2 separate regions of the Homo sapiens genome follow, and region 2 is linked to region 1. The links are contacts of gene promoters, found by promoter capture Hi-C in human tissues and cell types (Jung and others, 2019). All regions are on one chromosome and are shown on one strand. The core of a region is centred on a gene start or on the middle of the fragment in contact, and the rest is flanking DNA. Distances in the headings are between cores, read along the strand shown.

The links. Contacts are between HindIII fragments. The study calls those that stand out against the background at their distance.
Region 2: a fragment that was not itself captured here is called in contact with the fragment with the promoter of FSTL1 in region 1 in 1 of the 25 tissues and cell types used here (bladder).

The regions. Positions count from the first base shown.
Region 1 is chr3:120,449,473-120,452,441 of GRCh38, forward strand. It overlaps FSTL1 (follistatin like 1), which reads right to left and starts at 1,520. Exons shown (of 11, transcript NM_007085.5): 1 at 1,425-1,520; 2 at 1,212-1,274. The coding sequence starts at 1,274. LOC124900546 (a long non-coding RNA gene) reads right to left here and starts at 1,182. Exons shown (of 2, transcript XR_007096030.1): 1 at 1-1,182. The HindIII fragment of the contact is 21,476 bases long and covers 1-2,969 here.
Region 2 is chr3:120,512,333-120,515,301 of GRCh38, forward strand. It overlaps the pseudogene RPL34P9. Among named protein-coding and RNA genes, the nearest start is that of FSTL1, 63 kb to the left of the region's middle. The HindIII fragment of the contact is 3,428 bases long and covers 1-2,969 here.

The sequences.
Region 1 (2,969 bases), core at 270-2,769:
TAACCTTCGCTGACTCAATTTATCTGTCATTAAAATGGAATTTTATTACAACATAGCAGATATTTAATAAATATTAGCTACTTTTATTTCATTGGCAGTAAAAACAGTTGATTGAGTTTCCACCTCAATCAACAACGTAGTAGTGAATTAAATGAGAATTCAGTACAATGCGTATTTTTTAAAAATTGTGAAGACCTTGTATGCATTTATGACTTTTTTGGGCAGAGTCAAGCTGCGATGCTAAGGGTGTGGTTAAACTGTAATATGAAGGAAAAAATTCAAACAGGGAGCATAAACCACCCACCAGGGAGCTATTTCTTTTGTAATGTGCATTCCATTTCTTCTCCCTCATGCTTTTTAATTCCTTCCATATTTCCTGCCATAATTATCAAATGTTTAGTTTCTGACCTCACTTTCCTGGAGACTGGAGCCCGGGGAATTTAGAATTGTTTATTTTCTGTCCATAAACCTTTGAGTTAATGGAGCGGCTTCTGAGCAAAGAGTTTGTTGGTTTGTTTGTAGTGTCTCAGGAAGGTCGTTAGAGTTGAAAAAATTGGTACAAAAAAACAAGCGCTGAAATGCTTTAACTGGAAACTCGAGCCCCCAAAGAGCAGAGCAATGGATCTTCTCTTACACTTGCGCAACGTTACAGGGAACACTTGGGAAAAGGCCGTTACATTGCCCAGATGATAACACAAAACCCGAGGACACTTCACAAAGAAGAAAATACATTTCAGAGAATCATGATCTCACTTTAAAAGAGAGAAAGGAAAATTAATTTTGCCCCAAAAGAAGAATCCCGATTCCTCTGCCCCCGCCCCCAGGAGACAGACTTGGGAGGGAAAAGTCCCCAACTACTCTCAGTCTCCTCTGAAGTGAAGGACGGAACTGAGGCGCCTTTTTGAACTCGCTGCTGCTCCAGTCGCCGCCTCGTCCCCGTCGGCCCAGCCCGTCCCCTCTCCTCCTCCCCGCTCTCCCTCCATGTTAGCCGCGGCGGGGCTCCCGCTTACGGCCCGAACTACTTTTCCTGCTTTAAAGATTTAAGTTTCGTAAGCAGCATTACTGCCCCAGCTCCACCCCAGCACACCCCAAGGACCGAAACTCCCAGCGCCACCCCGGGAGAGCATCCCCAGGACGCGCGCCCACCCGCCCAGCGCGCAGACCCAAGAGGCCCCGGGGACCGAGTTCGGACTCCTCGGCCCCTCGCCTACCTCGGCGCGGACCCAGGCGACCGCCACCAGCGCGAGCGCGAGCGCGAGCCAGCGTTTCCACATCTGCGGAAGAGAGAAGAGAGCGAGTCTGAAGGCGCCGGGCCCCGCGCTGACCTGGGAAACTTGCTCGGGTCCCGCAGGCTCGCTCCGGCCGCCCAAGCACCCCCGGCCGCCCGAAGAGTCCGGCCTCCGCGCCGTGCGCCCTGCGCTCACCGTGGTCTGGTCCAGGTCTCCTGGGGGCGCGGGGCAGGACGGCGGCAGCGAGCTGTAAGCGGAGGTGGGAGCTCCGCCGATCGCCAGCCTCGGAGGAAATGCGACCTCCCCTCGCCGCCCCTTAAGACCTCTCCTTCCCCGCCTGCCTGCCCCCCCAGCTCCTCCCCATTCTCCTCCCCCTTCTGCTGCAGCGGCCCCCGCGGCTCCCGCTCCCCCTCCTTCCGACCCCTGCTCCGGGGAGCCCGCGGGAGTCCTGGCGCCGCCGAACCCCTCTCTCCGCACGGTCCCTCGTCCGGCGCCCCTTCGGCCCCCTGGACGTGGAGCGGAGGCAGAGGGGGTGTCCCGTGGGTCCCTGCCACAAAGGGGTAGGGGGAAGGGAAACCCCACCCCGGGAGGGGCTGCTGGCTGGCGGCGGCCCGGGCGGGCTGCGGCGGTGGCCAGGTGGGCGGTGCCGTGGGGGGCCCGGGAAGGTCCGGGACTGGAACCTGGAGGAAAAGACGTCCCGCGGCCTAGGAAGCGGAGCCGCCCCCCATGGCTGAAGGGGGAGGCCCAGGGAGGCAGAGGAGACCCCGCATCCCGGGGTCACGGCAGCAGGGCAGCGGGGCACCGGGAAGTGGGCGCAGGGCCGGGAAGACCGGCCGGCGTGGGGAAGGCTGCTGTGGGTTCTACAGTGCATTGTCCCGGGTGAGGTGGCGGCCGCCCTGCTCTGCTGGGAAGATCCTGAGTCCAGCGTTTGCCGGCAGCCTCATCCCCTCCTTCCCTCGGGCCGGGGAGCGGTGTCCCCCTCCTCTCTTCCGCCCACTCACTCATCACCTGTGTCCCTCCTCCCATCCCTGTCATCCCAAGTAGCCTCTGTGTTCAGGATTGCCATCTTCACCACCTTCTTCCCAGCCCTTGGCCTTCGAAAGTGTGCTACCTCTTTGACAGGGTTAACTCCCTAAAATGCTCCTAATTAAGGCGCCTTTCCTGCCATAACTAGTAAGGAGAGCAGATCCACTTAGCAACTCAGATTTCACATGCCCAAGACTAAGCCTCACTTCCCCCAGCTTCAGGGCCTGCTTATCTACCTCTTTCAGGGTGGTTGCCTTCAAACCTATCTCCTTTTCTCAGAGCCGGCTTGTACCCATAGCCTGGCAGTTTAGCCGCTGAGATCTCATATGCATCCCCTCGCCTCCGTTCACATGTCCACTTTCCTAGGCCAGACCTTCATCCTCCCTCACTCAGAAATTCTGGAAACCTCCTTTCGTTGTCCTCTGACTCCAGGCTCTCCCCTGTAGTCTCCACTGCAATCCATTGTCATATTCTTTCCCTTATTTTAAACATTGTCTTCCTCGTGTTCATGTTCTTCCTCTACTCAGAAACTTCAGCGTTCTTCTACCCACATCAAATCCAAACTCTGCCTTTCTTATAAGCCCTGCATTACTGGGCCCACCCTGTCCATCTAACTTCTCTTCAACTACATCAGCATACTTCCTCCGCTCAAAGCAGGCCCATCTCCTCGTTGTCCTCTGAACTTGTCATACTCACTCTGCTGCCAAGGTTTGT
Region 2 (2,969 bases), core at 197-2,696, 63 kb after region 1:
CAGACCCATACAGATTCACTGCCAGTAACTCGGATACTTGCCACTGGTAACAAAAGGATTCATAGAAATTCATAGAAATGGTATCATAGAAATGATTCATAGAAATGAAAGAGGAAATGATAGATACCGGTCCCACCTTTGCACATATTCCAGCTGACATATTGCCTTCTCAATACCACACCTCTGAGAGGGCAAAAATTAATTACCTGAGTGGATTTTTTTTAATGCAGAATAAGATTGTATGTGCCTGAATTCTTATAAAACTCTATAAAGGGCTTCCATGCTTAAATAGCTATTTCCTCTAGTAGCTTTTGATTGATGGATAATTTTCTCACATTCTAACAGATGTCTCAGCCATTTCTGCCACCTGTAGCAGAAAATATTCTGCACATAACACTTTTACTAATATAATACAGTAATGAATCAATAGAAATATTACTGCACTCTGCTTTAAAGAAAAGACATCTCAAGAAAACAAGGTCAGCTCTTCCAGGGATGCTGTCTGGAAGCGCTCAGAATGTCAGTGTTTGACATATTGTCTTAGGCTTCCTACAACAGCCTCTAACAGAACTCTGCTGTACTGAACCCCTAGTAATAGAATTGTTTACCTTTACACCAAGAAGGATGGAAAAGCACCAAAATCTGCATGTGGTGTGTGCCCAGGCCGACTTTGAGGGATTTCTGCTGTGAGACCTAAAGTTCTTATGATTGGCCAGTATGAAAAAACATGTCAGCAGGGCCTAAGGTGTCCCATGTGTGCCAAATGTGCCTGTGACAAGTTGAAAGGTGCTTTCCTTATCAAGAAGGAGAAAATTGTTTCAAAGGTGTTGAAGGCACAAGAAAGTAAGAAAGCTAAATTTAAAAAATGAAGCTTTTTTGGTTATAAAAAAATCAAAAGGCAACAGCAGCAACAAGACAAGGTCAAAATGAGGTAACTGAGTGAAAAAACAAAAACAAAAACAAAACAAACGAACTGGGGGCCAAGCATGGTGGCTCATTCCTGTAATCTCAGCACTTGGGAGGCTGAGGTAGGAGGATCACTTGAACCCAGGAGTTTGAGACCAGTCTGGGAAACATAGGGAGAGCCCATCTCTAGAAAAAAAATTACCTGGGCATGGTGGCCCACAGATACTCAGGAAGCTGAGGTGGGAGGATTGCTTGAGCCTGGGAGTTCGAGGCTGCAGTGAGTGAGCTATCATCATGCCACTGCACTCCAGTCTGGGCAACGGAGTGAAACCCTGTCTCTAAAAAAATCAAAATCAAAATTAACTGGCAGTACAGGTTCAACTCCTCCAAATCTACTCTTGGAACCATGTATATAATTACTGATCTTCAGAATGATGCATGGGAACTGCATTATCATCAGTCTTTAAAAATTGTTTTATTAAGTTTACAATTTACTAAATGTCTTTTATGAGCCCAGATCTCCTCTAAATTTTATGGGGAATGAAGAAATATGATACATGGCACCTGTCCTCAAGCAGCTTACAGTATAATGGAAAAAACAGGGAAAATTATTTAAATCATATTAAATGCAAAGTTGTATGGCATTCAATGTAGAGAAGTTCAGGTAAGACTGTATGATGCATATTTCAGTGTTTCTAACTGGTCAACCAGTTTGGATGAGTGAATCTTGGTGGATGACCCAGTCGGTGACTGTGAGCACCTCTCCAAGCTTTCTCTTAATATGGCTTGAAATTGTGTTTTATTTTCAGCATCTACATTATAAACTACTTCTAAAACTGTTTCACAATAATGCTTCTAACACTGTTTTTTAATATCCTACTCTTGTGCAGTTCATTTTTTGAAGCTATAAATAAAATTTATATTTATCCTTATTCAATTATTCTGATTGGTTGATGCTCATTGATCTAATTCATTAAAATAATTTGGACCCTGGTTGTATCATTCAATTTATTAGCTTTCCCTCCCAACTTTAGTCACCTGATTCAACTTGGATATATCTTAATTATAAGGAATTTTAGTGCACTGTGAAGTTTTTGAAAAATTGTCCTATATATTATCTCATTTTATGATCTAAGTCTCTGGGCAGTGATTATTCCCTTTCTTACAGGTGGCCACTGAAGCTCAGGGCAGTGAGGTGACTTACTAGCAAGTGCAGAGCTAGGACAAGGATTCATGTCTAGTATTCATGTCATGTATTCGAGACTAGTGCCTTGGTACCCTTTCTTTATTTAAAATACTATATATATATATATATATATATATATCCTCCCCCTCCCCCTCCCCCCTCCCTCTCCTTCTTCTTTACAGAGTCTTGCTCTGTGTCCAGGCTAGAGTGCAGTGGCACAATCACAGCTCACTGCAGCCTTGACCTTCTGGGCTCAAGAGATCCTCCCATCTTAGCCTCCTGAGTAGCTGAGGCCCTAGAGGTGCACTGCCATGCCTGCTAATTTTTAAATCTTTTTGTAGAGATAGGGTCTCCCTATGTTGCCCAGGCTGGTCTCAAACTCCTGGACCAAAGTTATCCTCCTGCCTTGTCTTCCTGAAGTGCTGGGATTACAGGCATGAATCACTATGCCCAGCCAAAATATTACATTTTTTCAAAGGAATATTTTTGTTTATTTTTAATTTTAAAGATCACATGTTGAATATGTTAACAATGCATAAACTCAGATACTACAGATACTGAACATCCCCTTTGGCCCCTCTTCCAACCCCACATCCCTCTCCAAAGGTACTCACTCAACTCAATTTGGAGTGTATTCTTCAAGACCTTTCCCCATATACTTCTTCATTTCTGGAAATAGTTCATTCTGTGGGACGTTGTACTTGTTTGTCTAAACTTGCCTTTTTCACTTCATAATATATCTTAGAGCTCTTTCCATGTCCTCATTTACATATATTATTTATCTTTTTATCTGATGCATAGTGTTCCATTACAGGAATGTATATAATTTAACTTTTCCCTGTTGATAAACATTAAGAATGTTTTCAGTTTTATTGCT